Linked DNA regions of Homo sapiens: all the other regions are linked to region 1. Evidence: promoter capture Hi-C in 16 types of primary human blood cells and fetal thymus (Javierre and others, 2016). All regions are on one chromosome and are shown on one strand. The core of a region is centred on a gene start or on the middle of the fragment in contact, and the rest is flanking DNA. Distances in the headings are between cores, read along the strand shown. Region 1 holds the start of MED9 (mediator complex subunit 9). Region 2 has its middle 78 kb from the start of NT5M. Region 3 has its middle 61 kb from the start of NT5M. Region 4 has its middle 76 kb from the start of MED9.

The links. Contacts are between HindIII fragments. The CHiCAGO score rates a contact against its expected background, and 5 or more counts as called.
Region 2: a fragment that was not itself captured here is called in contact with the fragment with the promoter of MED9 in region 1 in 6 of 17 cell types (endothelial precursors, M2 macrophages, erythroblasts and 3 more); the score reaches 7.1 in endothelial precursors.
Region 3: a fragment that was not itself captured here is called in contact with the fragment with the promoter of MED9 in region 1 in 7 of 17 cell types (M2 macrophages, endothelial precursors, fetal thymus and 4 more); the score reaches 8.2 in M2 macrophages.
Region 4: a fragment that was not itself captured here is called in contact with the fragment with the promoter of MED9 in region 1 in 3 of 17 cell types (fetal thymus, endothelial precursors and erythroblasts); the score reaches 6.7 in fetal thymus.

The regions. Positions count from the first base shown.
Region 1 is chr17:17,475,636-17,478,335 of GRCh38, forward strand. MED9 (mediator complex subunit 9) reads left to right here and starts at 1,365. Exons shown (of 2, transcript NM_018019.3): 1 at 1,365-1,630. The coding sequence starts at 1,407. RefSeq lists an enhancer at 1,369-1,468. The HindIII fragment of the contact is 9,122 bases long and covers 134-2,700 here.
Region 2 is chr17:17,379,920-17,382,619 of GRCh38, forward strand. No RefSeq gene overlaps it. Among named protein-coding and RNA genes, the nearest start is that of NT5M, 78 kb to the left of the region's middle. The HindIII fragment of the contact is 2,191 bases long and covers 326-2,516 here.
Region 3 is chr17:17,362,640-17,365,339 of GRCh38, forward strand. No RefSeq gene overlaps it. Among named protein-coding and RNA genes, the nearest start is that of NT5M, 61 kb to the left of the region's middle. The HindIII fragment of the contact is 5,308 bases long and covers 1-2,700 here.
Region 4 is chr17:17,400,106-17,402,805 of GRCh38, forward strand. No RefSeq gene overlaps it. Among named protein-coding and RNA genes, the nearest start is that of MED9, 76 kb to the right of the region's middle. The HindIII fragment of the contact is 1,811 bases long and covers 454-2,264 here.

The DNA of each region.
Region 1 (2,700 bases), core at 115-2,614:
TAAGGCTCCTGTTCATCATGCTATGTGGATGTGGACCTCCTCGCCTCTCTGTACTGCCCATGATGGTGGATTACAGCAGAATGGGCTCACCAGTTGACAGCTTTCCCCACTCATGTCTTCTACTCACTAGCTAAGCTTGGGGTGGGTGTCCCCATTGCCCGGAAAATTACTACACAGCCCTCATATCAAACTTGTTTTGAGAAGCATAACCATAAACCCATCTTTGGCCTATGATCCTAGGGAGTCCTCATGCCAACAAGACCTTTTGGGGTCAGCCACGCATGTGAAGTTAGAATGCAGTTTAGGCTGTGCCATGAATCTGAACTAAATATGATTTTAGGGGTGAGGAAACTGGGACCTAGGGGCTTGGGGAACTGGCCCGAAGGTATGGAGAGTACCTGACCTTGTCGTTCTTCCAGGATATGATATTTACTCCTGGCACCAATCCCCTCTACCTTGTACTGAAAGCAAGGACAGCCTGCCTGCAACCACACATACAGGTGGCCATCCAGCAGGTGCATACTAAATGTGTGTTGAGTTGAATTATTAGACTCTTTCTAAGCAACCTTGCAGCATTGAAGGGACCGCAATCCCTTTGCCTCTGCGTCCTTAGGGCTAAACTCGAGGTCTCGATGTCTTGCACTGTGGGCTGGGCCGGGTTTGGTGCCTCACCCAGCAGGTAAGTGCTGTCTACGCCTCCCACAGGTCCAGTGGCTCCTCTCCAGACTTGGGTGCACTGGGCCAGGCTGCACCTTACTAATCTCAAGGCTTCCTGTGTTTGTGGCTTTGGGGCCCTCTTCATCGTGTGAATAGGAATAAGAAGATTGTTATTTCTGGCCGGGTGCAGTGGCTCACGCCTGTAATCCCAGCACTTTGGGAGGCCGAGACGGGCGGATCACCTGAGGTGGGGAGTTCGAGACCAGCCTGATCAACATGGAGAAACCCCGTCTCTACTAAAAATATAAAATTAGCCGGGCGTGGTGGTGCATGCCTGTAATCCCAGCTACTAGGGAGGCTGAGGCAGGAGAATCGCTTGAACCCGGGAGGCGGAGGTTGCGGTGAGCCGAGATCGCGCCACTGCACTCCAGCCTGGGCAACAAGAGCGAAATTCCGTCTCAAAAAAAAAAAAAAGATTGTTATTTCTGAAATAAACCCCTATTTCTCACTATTTAATAATTTAGCAATCTTGACTCACAATCCAAATCCAGGCACCCCAGACCCACCCACGGCCCGTTGCCTAGCAACAGCCTCCCCACCCCCGCCTCCGCGCCTTTTCCCGCCGACTGCCCAGTGCGCACGCTCAGAGCCTTCCTCCACACCCCGCCCCTGCAGGGCGCGCGGTGGTGACGTGTAGAGTGCGCGACGCTTTTGGCGACCCGACCTCTGGCTAACCTACCCCCGGAGCCATGGCCTCTGCTGGGGTGGCAGCCGGGCGACAGGCGGAGGATGTATTGCCGCCAACGTCCGACCAGCCGCTGCCTGACACCAAGCCGCTGCCGCCTCCTCAGCCGCCGCCGGTCCCTGCGCCTCAACCGCAGCAGTCGCCGGCGCCACGGCCTCAGTCACCTGCCCGCGCGAGGGAGGAAGAGAACTACTCCTTTTTACCTTTGGTTCACAACATCATCAAATGGTAAGAACCTAGGAGAGGACCAGGCCCCATACTCCCTCCAGCTTCTCCTCTCAGCCGTTTCAGAGCTGCAAGAGGCCTTGGCGCTCTGGGGCACGCCCCCGTTTCACAGATGGGGAAACTCAGACCCAGAGCGGGAAGAGGCCTTTCCCAAGACCACAGAGACATTCCATGAGTTAAGCAAACGATTTGAGCCTCGAGAGGTGCGATATCCTTAAGAATGAAGCCAGCTTAGAGACTAAATGCAGACTCTTGTCCAGCGGCTCAAATGTTCATCCCAGCGATCTTGAGCAAATTAAATCTCTTTAAGCCTCAGTTTTCTCACCTTTAATGTTGGTAATACTCACTTTAGTTCCTTAGTTCAGCAAACTCAACAGATAAGCATCATCTTCCCTGTGCCAAGTGCTACGGGATGGACGCAGTAAAAGGGGCCAACTTTTCACCCCCAAAGGTTTAGATAGAAGGAAAAAAAGACATGATTGGGAATAACCCACAATTCAAAAAGATTGAGACGGGAGTGGTGGCGATGGGAAACATTAGACTAAGCAGAAACACAGAAGTTGCCTCAGATGATTAGACCCACTTGTACTGACTTTGTTCTAACAGTACCAAAGGAAATAATTGTTGTCATCCTTTTGGCCAGCCTTCAGGGTAGCCTGAGTTTTCAAAGTGACTCTGTAGAGGAAAAACCAAAAACAAAAACACAAAAGTCTCACTGATCCTTATGTTTGCCTAAATTATTATTTTTTTTGAGAGAGGGTCTCGCTCTGTCACCCAGACTGGAGTACAGTGGCGTGATCTCGGCTCACTGCAGCCTCAACCTCCTGGCCTCAAGCCATCCTCCCACCTCATCCTCCCAAGTAACCGGAACCACAGGCATGAGCCATGGCACCCAGCGAATTTTTGTATTTTTTGTAGAGATGGAGTTTCACCATGTTGCCCAGGCTGTAAATTATTTTCATTATGTTACTTCACTGTATATCCACGTGATACTAGGTGTAAACCCCTAGGCTTGTAACTCTTACTCAACCATTAAAGACCAAAACAAAGTAAATTAAAAGAAAATTACGATT
Region 2 (2,700 bases), core at 171-2,670, 96 kb before region 1:
GCAGCAGGTGAGGTGGAGGGGGCTGCACTTGTTTCCATGGGGTTGTTTCTGGGACTTACAGTCAGAGCTCCTGGATGTGCATCTTGGCTCCATTCCTTCCTGGGGGACCTTGGGCAGCACACGTAAGCCTCAGCCTCAGTTTCTCCAGTAGACAAATGATGAGTCTATTAAGGGCTGTGTATTGAGGACAGAATGAGAATGAAGAAAGCCAGAGGGGCCTGAGAGAGGTGATCAGGAGGAGGAAGGCGGGGAGAGAAAGAGGGAGGGAGAGCGAACCTGAGTGCCTGCCCCACCCGACTCCCGACCTCCGTGAGTAGAGGGCTGAAGCTTTCCCCTCCTCCCACAGCCATTTACCCAGCTCTGGGGGTAATTGCTATAATTTCAAGGCTGGGTAATGCCAGCAGATTAGAGAGGGAAAGGCTCCCTCGGGTTCAGCCGGCACATTAGGCACAGTTATAAATGTCAGCGCTGATGGCTCGTCAAGAGCCCCAGGATGGGGGCACAAGCTCCCCACTGTCCTCAGGCCCAGCCCTTCCCCCTCCTCTGGGCTAGAACCCGAGTGTAAGGTACTGCACTCCCCACAGCTCACCCTCCACCATCAGCCCCCTCCTGTTCACCTCTGCTCAGTGTTCAGACCCTGCTTCTGCTGCCTGGTGTGCACCCTTGGGCAAGGCTCTGAGCCTCAACTGCAAAATGGGCAGCAACAACAGCACATGCTCCATCAGCCGCCCTCGGCACTGTGGGCCCTGGTCATCCTCCCAGCGATACTGAGGGAGATGCTCTGGGACCCCATTCGTCAGGAGGTGAAGAGAGATGAGGCCCCAGCCTGCGCCTCCATTTCCCCATCTGCAAAATGTGGAGGTTGGGTAAGAAGAGGAGACCCCTGAGTGCGCTTCCAGCCTTCACGGTCTCTGCTTCTGTCCTGAGGGTTGTGTGGCAGAAACCCTGGGCGTCAGGCAGGACAGGGGGAGGCAGTGGGGAGAGAGGTTGAAAGAAGGCTTCCCCACAGTGGGCTGCTCTGCCTCCACCGGCCTCCTGAGGCTGCCAGGAGTGTTTTTCTCCCGTGGGGAAAGCCTGTGGGGTCCCTTCCTCAGGGCCTTTGCCAAGCTCAAAGGAGGTGCCATTAGTCTCTTGGGGAGCTCTAAGGGTCTGAGTCTCTAGAGCACATGCAGGGGTCCCCTATGCGTGTGAGAAAAGGCTTTGGGTCCCTAGGGAGGAGACCAGGCATGGGACAACCTGTCCTTCCCACCTTTCTTCCCCTCCCTTCCCTATTCCCAGCGCTATATCATGAACATTTGCAGACATGAGAAAAGCTGAAAGGATAATACAGAGAACACCTTTGCAGCCACCACCTACAACTGTACCGTCTGCCCCCTGCCCCTCTGCCCCTTCATCTGTCCATCAAATTTTTGATGTATTGCAAAATAAGTTGCAGATGGACACCGCACCCCGAGACAGGCTAGCATGCACGTCACTCACTGGAGTTCAGTATTTGTTAACTGTTTTTTTTTTAGGGTGAAATTTATACATAATGAAATGGACAAATTTTAAGGGTAGCAATCAATGCATCTTGACAAATGCACACACATGTGAGGCTCAAGCTCTTCAAGACAGAGGGTGTCACCGTTGCCTGGAAAGTTCACCCTTGCTCCTTCCAGTCCCTAGAAACAGCTGCTGTCTTTTTTTTTTCCAACATCGCTTGGCTTTGCCTGTTCTAGACATTCATGTAAATAGAGCCATACAGTATGTTTTTTTGTTTTTGTTTTTGGCGGGGGAGGGGGCGTGGTTTCTTTTGCTAAGCATGTTTATTTTGAGATTCATCCATGTTTTCTTGGGTATTGGTAGTCCATTCCTTTTTATTGCAAAGTAGTAAGCCACTGCATGAATAGAGCCTGCTCATTTACCCGTGGATCTGTTGACCCTTTGAGTTGTTCCCAGTTTGAGGCTGTTATGAATAAAACTGTTGTGAACATTTGTGTGTGAGTCTTTGTGTGGACATGTTTGCATTTCTCTTGCATAAATGCCTAGAAGTAGAATTACTGGGCTTCCTCCTTTTATGGGATTAAAAAAGAAAAAGAAAGAATGAAAGAGAGACACAGAGACGGAAAGAAAAGAGAGAAGAAGAAAGTAAAGGAAAAGCAAAAAGCATAGGTAACTAGATTGCAGAAACTTTGAACAATAACCATCATCGCTCCAAAGAAACTGCCACCCCAGGAGTTCTCGACAGGCTATGGAGGAAGGCTTGGCATTGAGACAGACTTAGTGCAAATCTTGCTTTGCCACTTGTAAACTGTGTGACCCTAGGGAAGTTTCTTAACCTCTCTGAGCTTTAGTTCTTCCTCTGTAAACTGAGAACAATGAGATCAGCCAGTTTACAGTTGTTAGGGGGAATTCCCCAAGAGGAAGGCTGTAGAAGCCCTGGCCAGAACTTGGTCTGCAGTGGATCATGGCTAACATGAGCCCCTCTCCCTACCTATTTGTCTTGCAAGGTCCAAGGTCTGATGTCGTCTCAGTGAAGCTTTTCCTGAAAATCTAGTTAAAAATGAAAAGTGCCAACACTCACAGGAGACTTTCCATGAACCGGCATGTCTCTGAGTGCTCTGCAAGTATTAGCTCATTTAATTCTTTCAACAAGCCCCCAAAATAGCTTTATTATCAGCATATCTATTTTGTAGGCACAGAGAGATTCAATGATTTGCC
Region 3 (2,700 bases), core at 169-2,668, 110 kb before region 1:
TGAGCAGCACCACTGTCTTGTTCCAGAACTTCACCACTCAGACCCACCAGCGCTCACTCCCTGTCCCCTCCCCCAGGCCCTGCGCCACCCTGCTTATTCATAGGTTTACCTATTCTGGACATTGCGTATAAATGGAATCAGGTGCTCTGTGGGCTTGCGCGGCTGGCTTCTGCCACTTAGGATCATGGAGTCGAGGTTCATTCACCTGGTAGTATGTGCCTGGCCTTTCCTTTTAGTGGCTGAATAAGATTTCTTTTCTTTTCTTTTTTTTTTGACACGGAGTCTCACTCTGTCGCCCAGGCTGGAGTGCAGTGGCGCGATCTCGGCTCACTGCAACCCCCGCCTACCGGGTTCAAGCAATTCTTCTGCCTCAGCCTCCCAAGTAGGTGGGATTATAGGCACCTGCCACCACGCCCAGCTAATTTTTTGTATTTTTAGTAGAGACGGGGTTTCACCGGCCAGGCTGGGCTTGAATGCCTGACCTCAAGTGATCTACCCGCCATCACTGTGGCCCTGGGTCAGCTCCTAGCTGGCTCCTGCTCCCACCCTTGCCCCCTAGGGTCTGTTCTCCTCCAGCCTAAGGCAACTGTCCTCCCTCCTCTGCTCAAAACCCTCTCATGGCTCACACTTTACTAGGGCAGAAGCCCAAGTCCTCACCATGGTCCTCATCGTTTGTCCATTGGCACCGCCTCTTGGGCCTCCCTGCTCCCCTCCAAGCTCCTGTGCCTGTTCTTTCCTCTCCCAGACACTCTTCCTCCTGACCCTGTGTGCAAGCTCAGCCCTCTCATGGCATCTCTAAGTCTCAGGTCTCTCAAAGAGCCTCTTCTGCTTAAACTTGGACTGTCCTCTCCTGAGCCCTTCCTTGTTGACTCACTCGTTGCCACCTCCTAAGGAAGGGAGGAAGATTTAAATGGGACATGAAGGAGCAGTAGGAATCAGCTAGCCCGGGGAGGTGGTGGTGATGGGGAAGAGGGGGGTTGGGCGTGACAACCCAGGGCAGGAGGGAGGTGGCCTTGGAGGGAGTGAGCAGGTCCATGAGGCTGTGCAAGCAGCCAGGGGCGGGGCAGGTGAGAGAGCAGGCAAGGTGGCAGGGGCTCTGTTGGCCTCGCCTGTCTCCGCCTGGCCCTCCCCTGTGGCTTCATCTTGTTATGGCATCTTGGGTCATCAGCCTCCTGCCACAGTGATGCACACACCCTGTTCCCCTGTTCCTGGGTGATTATAAACACCCTCAAGGTGACAGCCCGCCCTTCTCAGCCTCGTCTGCACCCTACAGAGTGAGCACCTGCAGGATGGGTAAATAAACAGCTGTGAGAACCAACCAGCCAATCTCACAACGAGGGGAAACCCAGGGTTAGGCAAGGTCAAGGACCCTGTAGCCCTTTTGTAGCCTTGAACTCCAGGGAGGGGTAGGGCAGCCGCTTGGTTGGGGCAAAGTGTGTATTTGAAGGAGCCAAGCAGCAGGAAGAAAGAGAAAGTAGTTCTCTATGGCTCTCCTGGGAAGTGAAGCACTTTGAAAACTTGGAGGGCTTCCTGGAAGAGGCAAACCCAAGGTAGCTGGCCCATCTCACCTCACTGGGGAAATTCTGACCCATTTCTTCCAGATCCCAGAGACTCGGCCTAGGTCCTGCTGGGCCTGGACACTGTACCCTGCTTCTCTTCAGGCAGGGCCTCCCTTCCCCAGATTCCCAGGCCTGGAGGAAGCCACAGGAAGTGGAACGAGGCGCCGGCTCTGTGTCTGCTTGGGGACATGGGTTAATTAATCAGGCTTTGCCCTTTCGTGGTGCTCTTGTACCCTGGAGCTGAATATTCAGGCTGGCTCCCTGACTTAGCTCCTGCCTGCGTCTGACTGGCTCTATTTTTAAAGCCCAGAGGACAGCTGACGAAAACGTTTAAAAAGAAACCAAATGTTTAACATGTAAAAGCCTGGTGCCTCTGTTTTGTTCGGAAAGCAGGATGACATGCGTTTTGTCCCCATCCCCGGGAGGGTGCAGCGTTTTGCAGCAAGGTCAGGGTCCCAGGAAACCCAAGTCAGGCCCCAGCTTTGCCACTTACCTCTGTGTGAACTTTGCCAGCCTCCTTCTCCTCCTGTGCCTCCGTTTCCACTATGTGAAAAGAGAAGTTGGGATGAGTTGGATTCCCCTCATTAGACTTTGGGTGATTCAAGAGCCGTTTTTCTGCAGGGAATGGGTGTGGTGGGGGCAGGCTCCCTCCTCTGTTCCCCACCTGCTCCTTCTCATTTCATCTGGCTAATTCCCCTGGAAAGCTCCACTTTCTAACTAGGAGGAAGGGTCTCCTGCAAGCCCTTCGCAAGGTGTTGGGGAGGTCTTGGGAACAGAAGTTGGCAGCCCTTGTCTTTAATCTGCAGCTCACATTCAGGGTCACCTGTGCCAGGCATCAGTTTTAACATATTTTATTTTATTTTATTTATTGTTTTTTGAGATGGAGTTTCGCTCTTGTTGCCCAGGCTGGAGTGCAATGGTGCGATCTTGGCTCACTGCGACCTCCACCTCCCAGGTTCAAGCAATTCTCCTGCCTCAGCCTCCTGAGTAGCTAGGATTACAGTCATGCACCACCACGCCTGGCTAATTTTGTATTTTTAGTAGAGACGGGGTTTCTCCATGTTGAGGCTGGTCTCGAACTCCTGACCTCAGGTGATCTGCCCGCCTCGGCCTCCCAAAGTGCTGGGATTACAGGCGTGAG
Region 4 (2,700 bases), core at 109-2,608, 76 kb before region 1:
ATGAGGATGAAGCATTTTTATTCTTCCCACTGTAAGACGAAGTAGCATGCGTAAGAAGCCACGTTGGCTCATTTCTGCTTGAACCCCTGACTCTGTGACAACGTGCAGCTCTCTGGAAAGATGCTTTGAAGGCAAAGCAGGATGAAGCGCCCGGCCCCGCACGTCTCTTGCCTGAGTCACTTGATTCCTTAAAAGAGAAGAGCTCTAGTCCTTGCCTTTCTGACAGGCTTAATGACGATGCCTCTGCCATCTATAACCAGAGGTGCTCTTACACCCACACCTTGATGGGCTGCTGCTTCAACGTAACTTCTGAGCAAGTCCGATGTGATTTTGCACTTGCTGAACCTCCACCACCTGTATGTAAGCCGTGGGCTTCAACAGAACTGCCCTGAGGCAGTAGATGTGGTCTGGAGTCCTCAGACTCCTGAATGAAATGAACTTTAGTTCTTCGAAAGCTTGATTTTGTTTTCGTTGTCAACACTGGGAAATTGGGCTTAGAGGGGCTTCCAGGGGCCTCTTTGCCCTCCAGCTTTCCTTGCCTCCTCTTGTCTCCTGATTTGCTCTTATGTTTCTCTACCTTCCAGGAACCCGAGTTGCTAAGCTCCTAGCTCCAGCCTGTCCCACCAGCGGGGGCTCCAAGGGGCTCAGGCTTCCCAGAGTCCAGTGCCCACATAGCAGACAAACCCACATCGTGTGCCCGAGTCTCCTGGCCTGGTTTAGGCATGTGATTACACTCATGGGGTCTGTGTCTCTTGCTCGGATTTAACCACATACCCTCCCAACCCGCCAACTAGGTTTCAATGCAAGGGAAGGCCAGATCCCTGTATGTCATGTCTAACCCACACACCCACGTGAGCGCATGTCTGTGCACATGGAGCGTGTGTCTGGGGTCCCGATGGCAGTGTTTACACAGGAACCTCTGTCCAGTGAGCAGGCACACACGCACGTCCTGGGCATCTGGTGCTAGAACTCTCAGGAGTGAGAATGGGGTAAGGGGCAGAGAGTCCTTTACAGTGGGCCACCAGGGCACCCCCACTGGCGGCATGGACCCACCCCCTCAGGGGGCATAGAAAATATCTGGAGCCTAGGTTGAGGGTATGAACGTCCCCAGGGAGAAGGAAGGTCATCAGTGAATGTAGAGTGGGCAGAGTTGCCCCTTCCAGGGGAGTGAGCAAGGGGCACATCCCGTCAGTGCTGGGTCCACCGAGGGCTTGGGGGCTGCCATTAGCCCATGTGGTGCGTTGTGTGAAGGAAGAAAGCGCCCTCTAATGGTGGCTGCAGTCCCAAGGGTTGCAGGGCTTGGCTAGCGGAGCATGGACTGAATGTCAATGAGCACTGCGCCTTTGGCAGGATGCCCTTGGGCAGTGCACAGCCTGTACCGCTGTACAGGGCATCCGTGGGGGAGGCGGGACTTGTGGAGACACATCAGACCAAGGTCAGCTCCAGTGTGAATGGGGGAAGTGAGGGAACCCGAGGGCAGCAAGAGGTGGAGAGGCATCCAAGAAAGGCCCAGAGGATATGTAGGCTGGGTCCCCACCAGCAGTCACGTGAGTGCCTGGCAAGACCATGAGTCAACATCCCAGCACTTGGGGTGGAGTGAGGTCCACACACTCACTCCTCTGGTGCCACCACAGCTCAGGGGGCCTCTTGTCTGCACGCTGAGCCAGGACTGGCCACGATGGAGGGGGCCAAAGAACAAGAGAGCCCTGCTCTCTAGTTAAAGAGAAAATATGCACCCACACGGAACATGTTTAAAAATGTTCTTCACAAGTTAAACCTAGAGTCACCATATGGCCCAGCAATTCCACTCCGAGGTGTCTACACAAAAGAATTGAAAACAGGTGGCCGGGCATGGTGGCTCACGCCTGTAATCCCAGCACTTTGGGAGGCCGAGGCAGGCAGATCACGAGGTCAGGAGATCGAGACCATCCTGGCTAACACGGTGAAACCCCGTCTCTACTAAAAATACAAAAAATTAGCTGGGCGTGGTGGCAGGCGCCTGTAGTCCCAGCTACTCAGGAGGCTGAGGCAGGAGAATGGCGTGAACCCAGGAGGTGGAGCTTGCAGTGAGCCGAGATCGCGCCACTGCACTCCAGCCTGGGCAACAGAGAAAGACTCCATCTCAAAAAAAAAAAGAAAACATGTATTTGAACAAAAACTTATACATAAGTGTTTACAGCAGCAGTATTCATAACAGCCAAAAGGTGAAAGCAGCCCAATTGTGCATCCACAGATGAGTGGTAACAACTGCAGATGTGGATCCAAGCTTGGACACTTCTTACCTTCCAGACCCTGGACAAGTTCTGCAGCCTCTCGGACCCTCAGTCTCTTCATCTAAAAAATGCAAACGACAGTGCCCAGTTCTTGGGTGGTTGGGAAAACTAAGCCTACATACATAAGGTGTCAGATGCCCTGTAGGTCCTCACGGAGGTACGATATACCTGTACGATGGGATATTATTCAGCCACAAAAAGGTACAAGACAAGTGGACCTTGAAAACACTATGCAGAGGGAGGATGGCAGTCACAAGAAATCACATACAATTCCACTTATATGAAATATCCAGAATAGGTAAACCAACAGAGACAGGAAGCAGACTGCTGGGTGCCTGGGGCCGGAGGAAGGGAGGAGTGGGGAGTGACAGCTCATGGGAATGGAGTTCCTGTCAGGGGATGAAAGTGCTCGGGAGCTAGATAGAGG